Linked DNA regions of Homo sapiens: region 1 is linked to region 2. Evidence: promoter capture Hi-C in human tissues and cell types (Jung and others, 2019). All regions are on one chromosome and are shown on one strand. Each heading gives the region's core, a stretch centred on a gene start or on the middle of the fragment in contact. The rest is flanking DNA. Distances are from core to core; before and after follow the strand shown.

Evidence for each region. The method cuts DNA at HindIII sites, captures the fragments that hold promoters and counts their contacts. A contact is called where the count stands out against the background at its distance.
Region 1: a fragment that was not itself captured here is called in contact with the fragment with the promoter of HPS1 in region 2 in 1 of the 25 tissues and cell types used here (bladder).

Annotation. Positions count from the first base shown.
Region 1 is chr10:97,792,616-97,797,591 of GRCh38, reverse strand. No RefSeq gene overlaps it. Among named protein-coding and RNA genes, the nearest start is that of SFRP5, 23 kb to the right of the region's middle. The HindIII fragment of the contact is 5,525 bases long and covers 1-4,159 here.
Region 2 is chr10:98,444,684-98,449,429 of GRCh38, reverse strand. HPS1 (HPS1 biogenesis of lysosomal organelles complex 3 subunit 1) reads left to right here and starts at 2,495. Exons shown (of 20, transcript NM_000195.5): 1 at 2,495-2,623; 2 at 4,026-4,130. It overlaps HPS1-AS1 (HPS1 antisense RNA 1), which reads right to left and starts at 3,109. Exons shown (of 3, transcript NR_134454.1): 1 at 2,673-3,109. RefSeq lists a silencer at 2,328-2,677. The HindIII fragment of the contact is 14,922 bases long and covers 1-4,746 here.

The DNA.
Region 1 (4,976 bases), core at 148-2,647, 650 kb after region 2:
GTCTTCGTGCCTCAGTCAATACTGGAAGAGAAAGAGTCCTGACTTAATATCTCATTCTATGTGTCACTGCAAGTAAATAGAGAAAAAAATCAAGAAAGAGATGGATACTGCACAGTGCTAACAATAATAATCACCAGAAGTTGAGATTATTGGTGAGTTTTATTTTACTTTATGTAGTTTTCAGATTTTCTAAAATGCATTTTATAAGCAGAAAAATTAAATTTTATCTTTAAAAAAGATGTAGGCTGAGCATAGCACTTTGGGATGCCAAGGCAGGAGGATCGCTTGAGGCCAGGAGTTTAAGACCAGCCTGGACAACACAATGAGACCCCCGTCTCCACAAAAGTAAATAAATAAATTATCTGGGCATGATGGTGTGTGCCTGTAGTCCCAGCTATTTGGGAGGCTGAGGTAGGGGGATCACTTGAGCCCAGGAGTTCAAGGTTGCAGTGAGCTACATCACACCACTGCACTCCAGCCTGGGCAACAGAATAAGATCCTGTCTCAAAAAAAAAAAAAATGTGGTTGCCGAAGCAAACATTATTGGTTACCCACCCAACAGCCATTTCCTGACTCCATCCTCACTAAATAGCCCTTGCAAGAATTTTTTTCATGTATTAGGTTGTCAGAACTTCAGAGAAGGCTGGACTCTCCTTGTCCCAGGACTGATACTTGGTCACTCATGGTAACGTCTTTCCCCTTGCCAGCAACTGGCTTAGGAAGGAGCATGTGACTTGATTCTGTCCGATGAGACATGACAGGAAGTCAGCTGGGGAGACTTCTAGGAAATGCTTTCTTGCTCTTAAAAAAAGACACAGAGGATAGGTAAACTGTGGCCAATCAATGCAATCTTGTTATTCAACAAGAAAAAAAAAACGAGCTACCAAGTCATGAAAAGACATAGAGGAAGCTTAAATGTGTATTACTAAGTAAAATAAGCCAGTCTGAAAAGGCTATGTACTATATGACATTCTGGAAAAGGAAAAATGGTGAAGACAGTAAAAAGATCAGTGTTGTCAGGGGTTAGTGGAGAGAGAGGGGTGAATAGGTGGAGCACAGAGGATTTTTAAGACAATGAAACTATTCTGTATGATACTATAATGGTGGATGCGTGTCATTAGACATTTATCCAAACCCATAGAATGTACAACACCAAGAGCAAACCGTAATGAAAACCATGGACTTTGGGAGATGATGGTGTGCCCATGTAAGCTCATCAGTTGTAACACACGTACCACTCTGGTGAGCGGTATGGATAATGGGGGAGGCTGTGCATGTTGGGAGGGCAGCGGGTATATGGGGAATCTCTCTACCTTCCTCTCAATGTTGCTGTGAACCGAAAACTGCTCTAAAAAAATTAAGCCTATTAAAAATAAAAAGTTAAAAAGGGACATGAGAAAAGAAACAGTTCTCTTCTGCCCATTAACAAGGTCCTGTGAGATGGGATGCAGCATCCAGGGACGCACTGAGTATGGAAAGAACACCTGGATTGCTGGCAGGGGGCGCTGAGAGCAGGGCGCTGGGAGTGGGCCCTCCCAGGTGCAGGCAATATGGGAGTGTGCTGGTAGACAATTGGAAACATCAGTAAAACAAACCAAGGGGCCATCTACATGCTATTCTCACCAAGCAATTCCTTTAAGGTATATCAGTGATAAAATACCCTTCCCTAAAAAATCCTTCATTGGTCTAAGTTCTAAACAAGTGACGTGGTTATACTGCTGGGCTTTCATACAAGTTAACTTCCAATTAGCACACTTTCGTGATTTATTCTTTCATAAGCATCATATTCTACATGACAGTTAATTTAGAAAGCTCTCGGTTATTCGGGCAGCCTTAGACACACGCTGACTTAGCTATGCTTGTGATATATTTTTAATTAGTAAACTTCATTTTTAGAGCAGTTTTAGATTTATAGAAAAATTGAGTGCGGGTAGTTTCCCTTAATATTAACATCTTACACTACAGTGGTACATTTGTTACAATTGGTGAACCAATACTGATACACTGTTGTTAATGAAAATCCATAGTTTACATTAGAGTTCACTAATGACCAGCAAAAGCTTTGTACATTCTATGGGTTTTGACCATGTAATGATATTACTCGTCATTATAGTATCACACAGAATAGTTTCACTGTCTTAAAAATCGTCTGCCATCCACCTATTCATCCCTCCCTCCCCCAGCTCCTGGCAACCACTGATCTTTTTGCTGTCTCCATAGCTTTGCCTTTTCCAGAATGTCATGCACTGTAGTTGGAACCACACAGCATACGGCCTTTTCAGATGGGCTTTTCCCCTTAGTACCATGCATCTGAGGTTCGTCAGTATCTTTTCATAGTTTGACAGTGTATCTTATCTCTTTTGCTCACTGAATAACACTCCATTGCATGGATGTACCACAATTTACCATTTACTTATTGAAGGGCACCTTGCTTGTTTCCCACCTGTGTATTTGTAGGGTAAGTTCCTAACAGTTGAGAATCATTCAAGCTGGGCCGGGCATGGTGGCTCACGCCTGTAATCTGAGCACTATGGGAGGCTGAGGTGAGTGGATCACCTGAAGTCAAGAGTTCGAGACCAGCCTGGCCAACATGGTGAAACCCCATCTCTACTAAAAATACCAAAAAAATTAGCCAGGCATGGTCTACAGACTACAGACTACACCTGTAGTCCCAGCTACTCAGGGAGGGTGAGGCAGGAGAATCGCTTGAACCTGGGAGGCGGAGGTTGCATTGAGCGGAGATCGCACCACTGCACTCCAGCCTAGGTGACGGAGGGAGACTCCATCTCAAAAAAAAAAAAAAGAATCATTCCAGCTGGCTTCAAGTGCAGTTTGTGTCCCCAAATCATACAGTACTACACATTCCTGCATTTAAAGGGTATTTTATTTATTTAGTTCATTTTTTATTATTTTTATTTTATTTTATTCAAAATAAAAAATTATAGTCTATTGAGTATGAAAAAAAACAGAATTTGAGTTTCTTCAATTCTGTCATTCTATGGCACCACTCTATGGAGGTTTGTTTTGTGTTTAAAATGGATAACCATGATGTTAAGTATGAATGCTTTTGTCTGGTAAATACAACATTTGTTTATACACAAAACATTTTACTGAATTTGAACAGTATGTTTAAAGTTGACATTTTCTTTGTGTTTATTTGTTTCAAAATGAAAGAACAAGTTGTTTAAAAATAATTATTACTGATTATTACATGGTTATTAGTGAAAATAATTTTTGTCATACTGATAATTCTAAAATAGCCTCCAGGATTCCTACCCTGACTATGCATGGCCTGTATGATCTCTTCTTCCTTAGTCTGGGTGGGACCAGCAAATATGGAATGTTATAATCAGTTGACTTTAAGTTAATAGAAAGTGAGATGATCCTGGGTAGGCCTGACCTAATCAGGTGAGCCTTTTTAAAGATGGTGACACCTCAGAGAGAGCTCTCCAGCTGGCTTTGAAGACACAGTCTTCAAGAAGAAGATGCAGGCCTTGGTGCAGTGGCTCACGCCTGTGATCCCAGCACTGTGGGAGGCCAAGGTGGGAGGATCACTTGAGCCCAGGAGTTCGAGAACAGCCTGGGCAACATAGCAAGACCTCATCTCTTAAAAAAAAAAAAAAGAAGAAGAAGAAGAAGAGGAAGAAGAAATAAAGAAAAAGAGAGAGGAAGGAAGGAAAGAAGGAAGGAAGGAAGGAAAGGAAGAGAGGAAGGAAGGATCTTAAAGAGGTTGGGCTGGGCGTGGTGGCTCACACCTATAATCCCAGCACTTTGGGAGGCCAAGGCAGGAGGATTGCTTGAGCTCAGGATTTCGAGACTTCATCTTTATATGAAATAAAAGAAAGGGAAGGAAGGATGGGAGGAAGAAAGGGAAGAAGGAAGAGAGGAAGAAAGGGGAAGAAGGAAGGGAGGGAGGGAGGAAGGGAGGCAAGAAGCAGTTCTACATCTGCAAGGAAATTAATTCTGCCAAAACCTAGGAAGTTTGGAAGAAGCTCCCAAGTCTCAGATGACCCTACCCTGGCTGACATGTTGGGTTTTGTTTCGTTTGAGATGGAATCTCACTCTGTTACCCAGGTTGGAGTGCAGTGGTGCGATTTCATCTCACTGCAACCTCTGCCTCCTGGGTTTAAGCAATTCTCCTGCCTGTCTCCCAAGTAGCTGGGACTAAAGGTGCATGCCACCACACCTGGCTAACTTTTGTATTTTTAGTACAGATGAGGTTTCACCATGTTGGCCAGGCTGGTCTCAAACTCCTGACCTCAAGTGATCCACCCACCTTGGCCTTCCAAACTGTTGGGATTACAGGCGTGAGCCACCGTGCCTGGACCTGGCTGACACTTTGACTGCAGCTTTGTGAGACCCTGAGCAAAGGACCCAGGTAACCCAGGCCTGGACTCCCAACCCACAGAGACTGTGCGCTAATAAATGTGCGTTGCTTTAAATGCTAAAGTAACACACATTTGTAATTTGTTTCAGCAGCAATAAAAAACAAATGTATGTGAGCGCAACACGTCAGCTGGCAAGAGGTAGCGCTGCAAGAGGATGAACACACCACAGTCCTCGCACTATGTAGGAATCTTTATTACTGCTTTGCAGATGACAAAACAGAGAATTTAAGCATCTTAGCCAAGGTCACACAGGTGATAAGTGACTGAGCCAGGCCACAAGCCAGGCCTGTGTGACTCCAGGTGCTCCAGTGAATTAGTTCCATGGATAATCCTGCAGGTGACTAGTGGACTAAACGTCCTCCCTGCTGTCATGGCCAGGTCCTTATGATGACCTGTGGTGATTTCTGGTGACAATAGGAGCCCATGGCTGAGAGGGGCATAGTGGAGGAGGCAGTTCCCACCCACAGACTCACGGACTTGCTCCACCTCAATTCCACCTGGCCATCTGGGTGAGCAGTGTAGACATGGGTCCCCAGCTGCTGCCTCTCCCAGCCTCCTGTTTATTTCCTTTACCGCATGTTTGCCATT
Region 2 (4,746 bases), core at 1,246-3,745:
TTTGGAAAATGGTTCAGCAGTTTAATATAAATTTAAACACAGACTTACCATACAGCCCAGCAATCCCATGAGTAGATATTTACCTAAGAGAAATATAAACTTATGTTGAACTACCTCACACCCATTAGGATGGCTACTATAAAAATTTTAAAGAAAATAGAAAATAGCAAGTGTTGACAAAGATGTGGGTAAACTGGAACACTTGTTCCAGGTTGGGAATGTAAAATGATGCAGCTGCTGTGGAAAACAGTATGGTAGTTCCTTAAAAAATTAAAAATAGAATTACCATATGATCTAGCAGTTTCTCTTCTGGGTATATGCCCAAAAGAATTGAAAGCAGAGTCTCAAAGAGATATTTGTACACTCATGTTCATAATGGCCTTATTCACAATGGATGTAACCCAATTGTCCATCAGCAGATAAATGGATAAGCAAAATGTAGTATATACAGACTATAGAGTATTATTTAGGCTTAAAAATAAAGAAAAAAGGAAGGAATTCTCACATATGCTACAACATGAATGCACCTTGAGAATATTATGCTAAGTGAAATAAGCCAGTCATAAAAAGACAAATACTGTATGATTCTACTTATATGAGGTACTTAGAGTAGTCAAATTCATAGAGACAGAAAGTAACATTGTGGTTGCTATGAGGAGGAATGAAGAATTGTTGTTGTTGTTGTTTTTGTTGTTGTTTTTGAGATGGGAGTCTCGCTCCGTTGCCCAGGCTGGAGTGCAGTGGCATGATCTTGGCTCACTGCAACCTCTGCCTCCTTGGTACCAGCAATTCTCCTGACTCAGCCTCCTGAGTCACTGGGACTACAGCTGTGTGCCACCACACCCTGCTAATTTTGTATTTTTAGTAGAGACAGGGTTTCACCATGTTGGCTAGGGTGACCTCAAACTCCTGACTTTGTGATCCGCCCGCCTTGACCTCCCAAAGTGTTGGGATTACAGGTGTGAGCCACCACACCCGGCCAGCATTATTGCTTAATGGATATAGTTTCAGTTTTAAAAGATGAAAAGAGCTGTGGAGATGGATGGTGGTGATGGCTGCATAGCATTAGGAATGTAGTTAATACCACTGAACAATACACTTAAAATGCTTAATGATCAATTTTACATTATATGTATTTTACCACAAACAAATTTGAAAAAAAGAAACATGTTGACACAAAAAACCCGTACATAACTAAAAAATAGATTATATTGGATTACATAAAAATGTAAAACTTTGGTGCTACAAATGATACCACTAAGAAAGTGAAAAGACAAGCCACATAATGGGAAAAAAACTTTTGCAAATCAAGTATCTGATAAGGGGCTTGTAACCAGAGCATATAAAGAACTCTTACAACTCAATAATAAAGACAATTTAAAAATGGATAAAGGATTTGAATAGACATTTCTCCAGAGAAGGTACACAAATAGGCAAAAAGCACATGAAAAGATGCCGAACGTCAGGGAAGTGCAAATAAAATCACAAGACACCACTCCACGCTGGGTTACTATACTTAAAAAAAAAAAAATCAACAATAACAAGCATTGGTGAGGATGTGGAGAAATCAGAATCCTCATACATTGCAGTTGGGAAATGGAAATTACCAGTAGGGGAATGAATAAGTAAATAACAGCATATCCATTTGATGGAATTCATTCGACCACTGAAAGCATAGTGAGTGAACGATCTCAACGGTGGGCTGAGCAAAGAGATGCGTGTGGCAGGGCTATGTGCTGTAGATGGGGAGTTGGAAGAATTTGCCCTAAGGTGGGCTGGAAGGGGTGGGTAGTGGGTTGGGGGGAGTGATGCTCTCTTTGATCTGCAGGTGGTGGAAGTATTGATTCTTAGCCTCTGCCTTTCCCCCAAGAGATGCTCAATCTACTATATCCCCAGCCAGTTCTTGCAACCCATACCTTGCTGGGCTGGGCTCAAAGCTCCCAGGTGGCACCCAGGCACTGAGGGGTGGACTGTTCGGGGATTTAGGCCCTTCCAGAGCGCCCCCTCCACTTCCAGGCACCCCCAATACACATACGATTTTTTAAAATAAATATTGCAAACATAGGTTCAACACAAAACTCCTAATGTGCACTCCACTCCCAAAATAGATTGAGAACTCCTATAAATTCCAGCGTTGGCACTCTGGGGGCAACTGAGCCCTTCTGTGCGCTATGTCACCTCCCCAAAGGTCAGGGAGAGCAGTCACAAAAGGACAGCTCTAGCCCCAGAACTTCAGTTCATTAGGCAAAGCCTGAGGTTCCGGGGCATGGGGAGGAGAGAAGGGATCAGCTGAGGAGCCAGGAAACCTGGGTTCTGAGCCTGGTTCGGACCCTCAGCAAGTTATTTCTTCTCTCTGCGCCTCCGTTTCCTCTTCTGTAAAATGGGGCATGGGCAAGGCCTGGCAGGGGCGGGGCTCGAACCCGCGGAAGGCGACGGCGGCTCCGGCCCCTCCCGGGGCGGGCGGTCACGTGCGCGATCACGCGGTCCTACCCGGAAGCGCGCCCGGGCTCCTGCAGGCGGGGCGCTGTGCGCGCCGCGATCCGGTACGTGGGCCTCCGGGCTGTCCCCTCTGGGGGCGGCGATCCTCCCTCCGGAGCCCCCCTTCAACCCTCCCGGAAGTGAGGTAGGGTCCCTAGGGGTCCCGGAGCGGGCCCACTCCTAGCCTCACCCACTCCGGGCGTGTGGCCGTGGGCCGGTCGCTTCCTCGCTCGGGGCCAAAGTTCCTCAGCCGTGAAGAGGGGTGGATGTCACAAGTCAAGCCTCCTTCCCAGGGTGGCCGTGAGGTTCGGGGGTGGGGGGAGGTGGGGATTTGGGGTGAAACTGGACAGAAACTGGCGTGCTAGGCAAACGGGAGCCCCGCGGCGGCGAACTGCTGACTCGCTCTCTCCAGAGACTCAGGGGCAGGGCCGGGCTCCGAAGGTGTGGGACCCCAGAAGGAGCTGCTGAAGACGGGACCAAGGGCCACAGGGAGGTTTGCTGGGGTCCAGATGGTGAAAGTGGGCGCTGGGGGTCGCCCCAGGTTGGCCCCCCGCCATCTGGAGCTCCTTTCGTCAGTGAGTCCCCTCCGAGTTCCCTTTCTAGGGCAAGATAGCGAGGTGAAGCGGAAGTCTCAGTGTGACACCGGCGAGGTTCTCTTCCCAGCAGCCTTTGGGAAGCATCCCCCTGTTTCGGGAATATGGCATTCGGGCCAATCATGTGGGTGATGGAGCCCGTCTCAGGGTTCGGCTGCTAAAGGCCGAACTCGTAACAGCAGTCTCTGTGGCGGGTAGTCACTTGCCTCTTACTGGCTCACAGTGCTTGACTTCCTAATTAAGTTTTCTGTTGTTCCTGCCCTCTATTCAAATATGAATGATTCCGGAACCAGATTGATTAATCCTGTTATTTGAAGAAGGGAAGCTGGGAAATAGGAATAATGATCCCCACACCTATGTAAGAACGCAGTTTGCTAAGGTTACTTTGCAGCTTGCCTGGTCACTCCCATGATCTAACCCTGTAGGGAGGTAGAGTAGGGGATGTTGCTCTGTTTCTCCGCAGGAGTTTGAGGCTCAGAGAGGTTTATGGGACTTGGCAAAGCCAAAACTAGAACCTGGTCCCAGATGCCTTTCCTGTTAGTTTCCTTCCATTCATCGTATCATCCCAGGATCCCCACTCCCTTCACCGGGACTGCATCCTCACCACCTGGGATGTGCTATGCTGTCTCCCGTCAGTCACTCCTAGCAAGCTCCCTGGGGCTGCTTGGGGAGCTCTGAGTGACCCGCAGAAGTGAGAGCACTTCATGGGAACAAAGGAGGAAGGAACAAAAGTGGGCACCTGCTCTGTGCAAAGGGCTGTGCTGGCCGGGTTCCTATTCTCCATTATGGGAGGTGAGGGGCAGGATCCCAGATATGTTCTTAGCAGACTGCCTCAGGGCCTGGAGAGACCAGGGACCACGCAGCCCTTCTCCAGCTTGTCCTTTCTCAACGGGCAGCAGTCAAGACCAGGGCATCTGCCTGCCCTCATATTCTCTCTGTTTTAAGCATTTGCAGGACCAGGGATGCTGTGCTGCTCTCCCATGAGCCAGTCACCGAGTCGGTCTGCTGCAGCCCTTTCTGAACCTCTGGCCGTCTGGATGCTCCACTGTGCTTGCCAAGGTAGATGATCTTGCCCCACCTGGGGAGGACAGGGAGGCAGGCAGCATCCACCCTGGGGCTTTGGGAGGCAGATGGAATGAGGTAGGCAGTGGACTGAGTGCTACTGGGCTCTGCACACCTGCTCATCCCCTCCCCAGCCCTGCATCCTGAGGCCACCCCCATCCTGATGCCTCATCTCTCCTTCACCCCTCGAATCCAGGCAGGTCATCACAGCCTGCTGCATCTTTAAAGCTCCTCCCAGCCCCCACCAAGGGGTGAGCACTCATTACCTGACACCCGCACCTAGATGACCGCCTTCATGACCTTGACCTGCCCATCTCCAGCCAGCCGGTCACTTCTCCGCTCACAACCACAGCCTCCATTCCATAGCCCACTGCTCCCTAACCCATACACTCTGGTCAGCTTTGTCACATGTACCTGGGAGTCCCAGAGCAGCCTCTTCAGGTCCACCCGCCTCTCCCAGCAACCTCCTTTTCACACCTGTTGCACTCTCAGTGTCTGCCTTGGCATTGAGTAATTCTGTGGGAATAGGCTGCATTCCTTCTTCACTGTGCTGTTATGTCTCCTGGCATTTGCCATAAATACCTTGGGACCAGTTGCACCAAGTTAGTTTGGG